Linked DNA regions of Homo sapiens: all the other regions are linked to region 1. Evidence: promoter capture Hi-C in 16 types of primary human blood cells and fetal thymus (Javierre and others, 2016). All regions are on one chromosome and are shown on one strand. Each heading gives the region's core, a stretch centred on a gene start or on the middle of the fragment in contact. The rest is flanking DNA. Distances are from core to core; before and after follow the strand shown.

Region 1 (3,261 bases), core at 408-2,907:
TTGAAGGCCAGTGGTTTTCAATCAGGGGTGATTTGGCCCCCAGGGGACACTTGGCAATGTTTGGAGACATTTTTGGTTGTCACAACAAGGTAGGGAGTGCTACTGGCATCAGCTGAGTAGAGACCTGCGATATTGCAATGCTCGGGACAACTCCTACAAAAAAAGAATAATTTGGCCCAAATGTCAACAGTGCTAAGATTAAGATACTCTGTTGTAAGCTATGGGAAAAAATGATCCTTCTCAAAACCCCATGAAATGTCTCGAACAAGATACCTATGTAGATTGTTATGCCTTTGTATTGCTCAGGCATAATAACAATCTCAGTTATGCTCTTGAGCATAATAACAATCTCAGCTATGCTCTTGAGATGCTGAAAAGATGGATTTTGCTGCACTGAGCCATAGATGCCCACGGGCTTAGTCATTTTAGAGATGGTGGGTCTTTGGTGCTAATGAGAAAATATTACAGACAATGCATCTTCATTCCTCAAATCACATGAGATGCTGAACAATAGTTAATGATCTACAAACACAAGCCTCAATGAATGAGAGTAATTACTTATTTGAAGAAGCCCTTCAATGGGTTCTTCCATAGAGGCTCAATTGTGCCCTGATTTAATCGTTTGAGGAGTCCTGCTTCTTCAGGAGGTGGCCATAGAGTGAGCAACTCAGAGGGTTCACAGCCAGGCTAACCTGCATTCCAGAATGCTTCCATTACACGTGAGCTTCTACAATGCCTCAACCTCAACGACACCATTTTTTCTCATCTGTAAAGTGGAGCTAATTAATCCTTGCTCCTAGGATTATGAAAGCAGTAATGGAAGGGCTGCTGCAGGGATGATGAGGGCAAAATCCTATAAAACACTTGTGGTACATTACACGTACTCAATAAATGCCAGTTCTCCTTTCAAAATCAGGAAAGAAAACCCTTCACAAGGCGATATGAGGAAGTGACAAAAAGAACTAGGACTTAATGAGCCCCCATACCACACACTATATATGGCTTTCTTCAGCCTCGAAATCTTAGTAGGATTAAGCCCATTTAACAGATGTGGAAGCTAAAGCTGAGCAGTGACAAACTCAAGGTCACACTGCTACTCAGTAGCAGGGCTGGCAGAGGAACCTTGGGTGTCTGATTATAAAGCCCCACCTCACCCTACCCCACAGCTTGGGCAGAAAAGCCCTAAAGGAAAGAGGCATCAAATTCCGAGATCTGAGGCCAAGAACATATAAGAAGAATCACGCTAGAAATCCTCTTGCTAAAGAATGAACTAGACCAGACAAAGCCAGCCCTTTATCTTGCAGGAGAGCCCACATGACTTTCATCAGTCTTTCATCCCCCGAGAGTTCCCATGATGACCCTGAGACATAATCCATGGGCCTCCTAGCCTTTGAGGTGAGGTGGGGTAGAACAGGGAACCCATTGTTCTCTAATTAGAGCCTGAGGTCTCCTCTGAGGCTCAAGATGGGGCTTCTTAATATGGAGCCTTCACCTGTTCCAAGCTATAGTATTATGATGCCTCCTCCCTTCAGAGGCAGCCCACCTGCCAACATTCATGAAAGGCTTCCTTCTTGATGTGAGGAGTGGGGAGAGGCATCACATGGCTAAGGGTCTTTCCTTGGGGTATAAAGGACTCAGTCTGCACCTGTTCAAACCCTAGCATCATTCATCCAGCTGCACTCCAGTGGAGCCTTCACGGTAGGCATCTGTTATTCCTGATGGTTGGGGAGACAGAGAGCAGGGGAGGGAGGGAGGGAGGAAGACAGCAAGTAAAGGAGGGAAATGAATGGGAGAAGAGAAGAAGGGAGGGAGAAAGAGAAGGAGGGGGAGAGGGAGGGATGGAGGAAAAGAGTGAGGGAGGGAGGGAAATGGTTGGGAGATGGAAAGAGGCAGAAAGGGTAGGAGGAAGGAGGGGAGGGAAGAAAAGTAGGAGAAATTGATGAAGGAAGAAAAGGAGGGAGAAAGAGAGGGTAGAAGGGAGGGAGGGAGAGAGGGAAAGAGGGAGGAAGGGAGAGAAGAATGGAGGGGAAATGAGGAGATAAATGAATGGAGGATAAGGTGGTAGGGGATGCTCTCAGGGCTGTCTGAGACCTGGATGTTGCTCCAGGATATAGCTGAAAACCCAAATTGCTCTGAGTCGATCTGTGAAAAGATGCAATGCCAGACAGAGAGCACCTGGCAAATTTACCCGGGGGAAAAATCCACCACTTCACATTAGTGAGGATCCTACATAGCCCTGGGCAATGACCCCGCCCACGGCACCTGGTGTGGAAACACAATCAGCATTAATTATGGGCAGTCCTCACTGAGCACTGAGCAAGTGCCGGAGATGGTGTTCTACCTTTATAAGACTCATCAGATTTAACCCTCATGATTCCCTGATGAAAAAACACCATTATATGCATTTCGCTGCCCAGGAAAATGAGTTCCAGGCATCTTCAGTGCCTGGCTCAGGGCACTCGACAAGCAAAAGGCAGAGCCTGAACTCCCTGACCCCAGCCCAGGTCTGTCCGACCAGCAAGGCCTTGGGCTCAGACACTGGCTATGCAGCCATGAGACCGGCCATTGGGAGACAGCTAGGGGAGCCGGGACTCCAAACCTGGCATGCAGACCAAGGCGAGGCTTCGGGAGCCTTCTCAGGCCCACAAGGACAGCACTGACCCATGAGGCCACGACAGCCCCAGAGACTTCCTTGGGCAAATTAGGAGAAGGAGGTCTTTCCTCCAGGTAGACACAGCCCCACAGCCAAGGGCGCCTGACTTGGCCAACAGGAGGATACTGGATTTCAGAAGCAGCCCCACACCATCCCACCCACGTACCCTAATGTGCACGTACCCCAGATTCGGGTCATCCTCACTGTTGCCCAGGGCTGACCACGTGCTTCTAACTGGCACCTTCTAGCTGGCACTGACTTTCCTTCTTTGTGCGCAGCAAGGAAGCTGTCACCTGCTGTGTTTCACCACACCCTAGCAAGAAGCTGGCCACCCTAAGGGTCTTCCCAAGCAAGTACTACCGATAATTGTGACAGTTACGCAGTGAGTCATCACTGGAATGCTTAGTTTGTCTCAAAGGACCGGCCTAGCAGTTTAGGGTATTGGAGCCAGAACAAGTCAGACTGGCCCACCTGGGTCTGGTCATTGCCAGAGCGCCCCCTTCTGGGCAAGGGCCACCCTGGCAAGTGACTCACCCTCTGAGCCCAGTTTCCTGGTCTAGAAAGTGAGACGTCTTGATAGCCAAAGTCTTGGAGGGTTGTCACCAGAC
Region 2 (3,261 bases), core at 220-2,719, 1.1 Mb after region 1:
TGATTCCCCAACAGCTCAAAGCATTTTAGTTTTCACACAATTATTCCAGAATCTCTTTGGAATATGCAAGGGACATATGATGCCTTGTGCTGACTTCTATGGTAATGTAATTAATATTTCATTATAGTCATTTTCAGTTTCTCAGCCAAGCAGACTGCAAGCATGGTGAAGGCAGAGTGAAGCTTCTCCACTGCTCTCCCCAGTGCAGAGCACAGGGCCTGCCACTAACTCATTCCTTACTACACGTTTGCTGAAGAACAGTTTGTCAGATGCATGAATGAGTAGTGGAAGATATTTCACAATAGATTAGATGGAATCATGGAAAAGATTATGACTCGAGAGTCAGCCCCATGTGATCCACTGCACCCAAGAAAAGGATGAACTCTAAATCAGATTCTGCAACACAGAGCCTGAAAAGGAGAATTCACTAATGAATCCAGATGCCTGTGTGCACATCTGGGTGCTGCCACTTACTTGCTGTGTGTCCTAGGACAAGTACCTAACCTCTCTGTGCCTCAATTTACACATCTGTGGAATAGTGGTAATAAATATCCCTATCTCATTAATTGTTATGAGGATTAAATCACATAATTCATGTGCAAATCTTGAAACATAGTAGGTGCCCAATAAGAGCTCTCACTGGCAGTGGTGTAGTCCATATTTATTGCTTCTCTCCTTTAGGCATTTTCTTTAATTGTGAAATATATACATTCCACAGAAAGCAAAATCCTCAGACTACCAGAGACTGAATTGATTTTAAATAAGTAAAGGGAGAAACCAATAGAGATGTTTGGAGTATGAAAAGAGGAAAAAAGCAAAGAAGGTTGGATTACACCTTATGGATGATTCAAAAAACAAGAGACCCACTGAATGAATGAGTATTACAAGTATTGTCCAAGTAAGCTCTGTTGATTCTGATATTTTCTGTTTTTCGAGTATAAGTAAGAAAGGTTGGATTGATCATTGTTCTTCTCATGAGCAGAAAATTGACACAAGCTTACAGTTAAATGCTGGTGTGAAAAGTGACAATTCCATTTATTAAAGGCTCTGAGGAGGAGGTTGCAAACACCATGCGCTCACACCCGACCCGGGCAGTTTCTCCAGGCAATGTGAGGAGATATAGTAGTAAAGGGGTGGAGACTTCCAGCCTCTGATCAATTTCTGTTTCGGAGCACTGGCCTGGATGGTCATGTTTTCTTGATAGCTGAGATGCAGCAGAAGCAGAATACAGGGTTGATGTCCTGCGCGATGGGACAGGTTGGCCTTGAGCAAGGTAATCTCTGAGCTTCAGTCTCCTCACTTGTAAAACCATTTTAATAATTCCTACCAAGGTTGTTTTGATATAAAATGAGCTCCATGTAAAGGTAATTTTTAACTGTAAACACACTACAAATGTAAATTATTTTTAAAATTTTTTAAATATCATATTTGAGGAGGATATATAATCTCCTGAGAATGCTGCAAGCAAAGGGCTTCTTATTTGAATTTTAATTATCTTTCAACTTCCAAATTAGCTCCTCCAATTGATATTAAAATATGATCTTCTTGAATAAATGTGAAAAGCTCAGTTCCACATCAAGATAAAATATAAATTCAATATTTTTTAAATTTCAGTAGATGAGTGCATAAAATATATATCAATGAATAAGAAATGACTTCAGAATTATAAAAATTGAATTAGAAACTAAGAATTCGCTATGTAGATGATGGTGTTCAAATAACCTCTGAAGCATGTATTATGGCATAGGGATAATCAGGTATCTATGGAAACTGTCGCATATTAATACTTGAAATAGGCAATAATTTGCTTTATCTGTCCACATGCAGTCATGGGTTAGGTAGTTATCCAAGGTGTTAGCATCTTCCGACACCTACAATAATGAAATACAGTTTGCTTTATCACAAGTGCCCTTATCATCAAGCCAATGATGGTTAAGCTTCAAAGGCCTTCACTCGCAAGCCCCTTCTAAGGCCTTCAGAGGGGCCCTAGCAAGTTCGCAGTTATGATTTTCACAGTTTTTCTTAAAGAGTATTCTCTTACCCCACCCCCAAGTTATTTAAGTCTCAGGACCCACAAAACCTGGATCAATCACTACTGCTATCCCCTTGGAGTAGACAGAATGTTCTTGGAGGGGTGGTGAGGAAACTTACAATGTAAAGGTCTTTTCCACACCACCATTTGCAGTTTTCCAAAAGATAGGTGGTGGTTTTTTTTAGCATACTGAAGTAATATTTTAGTAGCTTTTATAAAATATCCTGCCCCCATCACAAATTATAGCATGCATTTTAAGGGATTTTGAAGTTACTATAGTATAAAAGTAATTTTCAGAATTGCGGGCAGTGTCACTGGGAATTGTCCAATAGCTAACAACACCCCAATCTATCTGTGACTTCTGATCTTTCAATGTTAGAATTCTTTCAGCAGAAGAATTTCTGAGAGACTGTTAACTGTATTTATAGACAACTTAATGGCTACATAGACAATAGAGTTAGACAGGCCTGGTTTGGAACACCAGCTTTGCATCTCATTAGCTGTATAAAATTGAGCAAAGAATGTAACTTTACGTGCTTCAGCTTTCTTATCTATTACATTGGAATAATCCAGCCTGCCTCACTGAATCACTGTGACACTTATTTGAAATAAATGCTTGTGGTTTAACTAATTTAGGGACTGACACCAACTGGTACCCTTTCCCCATCCCCCGTGTCACTCTTAGTGTCCCCAGAGTTCAAGGTTCTTGCTTCTACAATGGACCTTGTTTTGTGGTTGGGAGTTTCTTGCTCCTGCATTCCCCACAGACTGTGTGTTCTTCAGGATGGTGACATATTTAACTCCCAGCAGCACATTCAGAGCCTGTCACATGTCAGCATGACTACTGTTTATTGAAGGGAATTGAATTGAATAGTCAAACAGAGTCAAGTACGCATGTTCTTTGGGTATGGAGTGGGATGGTAGAGAGATATGTGGTGCAATATTTGCAAATATATGGTCAGAAGAACTTCCAGGGTGTACATAATTTCTAAGGGCCTGATGAATTTTAGAAAGGATTTTTGAGAGTGTTGATTAAATTATAAAATGCCTTCCTTCTCCTCTCACCTCTCCCACGATTAAACAAGAGGACAGCACTGTTCTTGCCCATGGGCCTCGGAGGTGGGTGAAATTCTCTCTTGATAGATCGAAGCTTCTCTTCTGAACCTGGTGAAGCAGCTTCCCATTTATTATAAAGGGCATAGGTCAGAAAACCACCATTGCCACTGCTG
Region 3 (3,261 bases), core at 416-2,915, 1.0 Mb after region 1:
GCCTCTAGCTGGTGTCATGATTGTGGGAAACTCTTTTATCTTCTCTGTTACCTCACCTATCAAATTAAAGGGTATGAGTCTCCACATTTCTTCCTTCCATAAATTAAGGCTTAGTTATAACCACAACATACTGTATTTCTTAGAATACGACATCACTATTTTATACATTACTAAAAAATTGAAAATTCTACTAAACTATGAAGCAATGTTTTATCACTTTGAATTTTAACTTTCTACATATTTTAAAAGCTTTTTAGGTATAACCAAATAAAGATTTTATCATATATTACACTTGGATACATGTAAAAAGGAAAATGTAAGAGAAATTGGGAGATACAGTCCTGAAACTTTTGAAGTGATCCTCTTTAGAATAACTTCTCAACATCGGTATCCATATTTTCCAGAAAATATCATCTTCTATCTGTACCATCAAGGGTGCTGCATCCTTTCATTTCTTAAATGGCATTTGCAATTCTCTCCTGGAATCTCTCCCAAGCAGTTCACCACCATTCTTCAAGTTTTCATCTGGGCACTTCCTGTATTTTACCAGATCACATCAACAGAATATTTTTTTAGACAACCTCATGGAGATATAATGTCAAATGGTAAATTTGTGGTCCTTTGTCAATTTGAGGGCCTGGAGAAAAGGGGCTTCCTATGTTGGAACCCCCATTCAGGGCCATCACTTCACTCCAAGTCATCTTACCATGGAAACTCTTAGATAAGTTTAGTTGGGAACTTAGGCTCTGGGCACATGGAGAACTCATGACCAAATCCTGCCTTGGATCCATCAGCCTCACCAAGCCAAAGAACTCTGCTCTGTCTTAGATGACCTCCTTCTGGGTTCTATGCCATGAACTCTATTTATTGGCAACCTTCCTGGGATTTGTAAGAAGTACACTCAAACCTAATTAATCAATCTGATGAATAGTATGCACAGTCATTAAAGAATCACCACAGCTTTAATGAAGACAAAAGAGCACCAGATGTCCCTTGGATCAGACCTTGGGCTATTCTGTCTCATCCCTCCCTATTCTTTCTTTCCTGGCCTGACTCCTCCCAGCCTTCAATTCGTTTTCATCAGACCTTCTGGTGTCTCTTGTGTCCTTTCTCCTGGGATTTGGAGGCAGGCACACCAACTTTAAAGCTTCTGCTGTTACTGGATCCCATTCTTGAATCATCCAAATAAATCACTGCGTGAGCTTCACGAGGCTTGCTTTCCTCAACTGTATTGTGGGAAGAATGATATCTACCCTGCAGGATTGCTGTGCAGATTAAATACAATAAAGAATTTGAAAGCGCAGGGTTCACACTGAGTAACTGCACGGTACCATCCTTCCTTCTCACTCTTTTGCCTTTCTCAGTCGTTTCTTCCGTTCTTCCTTCCTCTTCCCCTTTTATATCTTGGTCTTTTCAAAACCTGCTCCAACTTTTATCCCCCCATCCCCTTCCTCTCTCCTTCTCTTTCCCTCTTCCTTTCTTTATTTCTTTCCTCTCTCCTTTTCTCTCCTCTTCCAGGCTACCTCTTTTCCTCCACCTCTTCTTTTACCAACTAAAGTTAACACGAACACAGTAGATCTGAGAGTTCTCTGGATGTCTAGCAAGACTGGCAAGTTTTTAAAAGACTAAAGCACAAGAATAGTAATTGAAGGGGCAAAGAGATAATGGTGTTTGTGTTTGTTGCTATCTTTCTTTTAATATATTTGCTAGTGAGGAATATACAATAAAATGGGAGACTGAGCAGGCCAGGAGAAAAGAAAGGGACCAGCCTCTCCTATTTGATATCTCCTATTTTATATGTTGTATTAATTGTCAACACAGGAAAATAGATATGGCTCACTTTGAAAAGTTTCAAATATTTGAGCACTTTAAATCTGTTTGCAGTCACATACATAATTTGACTGAGCTATAAGGAAAATTAAAGGGTGTTTTTGGTTTTTATGTTTCTGGATTTTTTGCAACACAGTTTAACTGTTACCTGAACATTGGTTCTTCTCTTTGCCTGAACTATAGTCCCAAATAGATTTCTCTTATCACCATTGTCAACCTGGAAGGGTAAAACAGTCACATCAATCCTGTTTCTCATTTCTGCAGCTTCCCTTGCAGTTTTACATGGTCATGTGTTCCAGTTCCAATGACATCTAAGTAGAGTCTGCCAAGGAGGTGGCTTGGGGAAAAGCTTTTACTTCCTAATGAAAACAGGATAGATGTTCAAGGCTGGAAGGCAGAGTGCTGCCCTCATCCCTTCCTTCCTGACTTGAATGCAGATGTGATGACTTGTCCTACAGTAGCCATCTTAAGACCACGAGACCCATAAAAATTACCACCCAAGTACCTTCGAGACTCTGACTCTGCTTGCAACCACCTACCTAGAGAAAACTAAACAACCATCTAGTTAAGCTAGTTATTCAGATATACTGCAACTTGTAGCCAAAAATGTTACTAGTCAATAGTCTCCTGGTCTTTGGAGAAAAGTTAGAGTCCAACCGTCTCAGATCTAAGTGGGGAAGTTACACCAGATACATCCAAATGCATTCAAAGTATCTTCCTACGGTTCTTATAAGGATAAAATCAGATAATGCAGGTGAAGTACTAGCACTACACCTGATAAATAGTAGGTGCCTAAATTCCTGGTCTCATTTTCCTTAGGAGGGATCACTCAATGAAGAAGCATCTCAATTAGAGCCCAGTGAAACATTCCCAATGATGTAGGCTCTCATTTCCTTATTTTGTTTGCTCTGGTCTAGCTCATAAGTATAAATTTTCTCCTAATCTGGCTAACTCTGCTTCTATGGTTAGCCAACATCAGAGTCATTATTCAGTTAGTTAGTTATCAAGACTGGGTCATTTTTTACTCATTCATTAAAAACTGTTTACTGAGCTTCTGCTGTTACCAAGCACTGGGGAAAGAATGACAAATAAGAGAGAATGGTGCTTGTCTTGGAAGAGCTTACACTCTAATCAGAGAAGACAAAAAAAAAAAAAAAGCTAACAACTAAGTAAGATAATTGCAGATTGTAAGATGTGCTATACAGGAAATAAACAAGTTTGTTTGGAAAATTCTGGGAGCAAGGAACTTAAATGCAATGGTCAAGGATCACTTCTCTGAGGTGACTTCTGAGTGACACCACAAAATGGCAGCTAAGCAATGATCCAGAAAAGCACTCTAGACAAAGAGAACACCAAGCAACAGTGAAGGGCAGCTTGTCCTTTCCACCTTTGCTTCTTAGCTAATACTTGCACTTTAGTGCCTATTTATCA

Evidence for each region. Contacts are between HindIII fragments. The CHiCAGO score rates a contact against its expected background, and 5 or more counts as called.
Region 2: a contact is called between a fragment that was not itself captured here and the fragment with the promoter of OC90 in region 1, in 1 of 17 cell types (M1 macrophages). The highest score is 5.0, in M1 macrophages.
Region 3: a contact is called between a fragment that was not itself captured here and the fragment with the promoter of OC90 in region 1, in 2 of 17 cell types (endothelial precursors and M0 macrophages). The highest score is 6.7, in endothelial precursors.

The regions. Positions count from the first base shown.
Region 1 is chr8:132,057,778-132,061,038 of GRCh38, reverse strand. OC90 (otoconin 90) reads left to right here and starts at 1,657. Exons shown (of 14, transcript NM_001080399.3): 1 at 1,657-1,698. RefSeq lists enhancers at 2,010-2,586, 2,587-3,164. The HindIII fragment of the contact is 6,980 bases long and covers 1-3,261 here.
Region 2 is chr8:130,974,974-130,978,234 of GRCh38, reverse strand. The region is part of intron 2 of ADCY8 (adenylate cyclase 8); the gene reads left to right. Among named protein-coding and RNA genes, the nearest start is that of ADCY8, 64 kb to the left of the region's middle. The HindIII fragment of the contact is 941 bases long and covers 999-1,939 here.
Region 3 is chr8:131,050,275-131,053,535 of GRCh38, reverse strand. The region is part of intron 1 of LOC105375760 (a long non-coding RNA gene); the gene reads right to left. Among named protein-coding and RNA genes, the nearest start is that of ADCY8, 11 kb to the right of the region's middle. The HindIII fragment of the contact is 1,032 bases long and covers 1,150-2,181 here.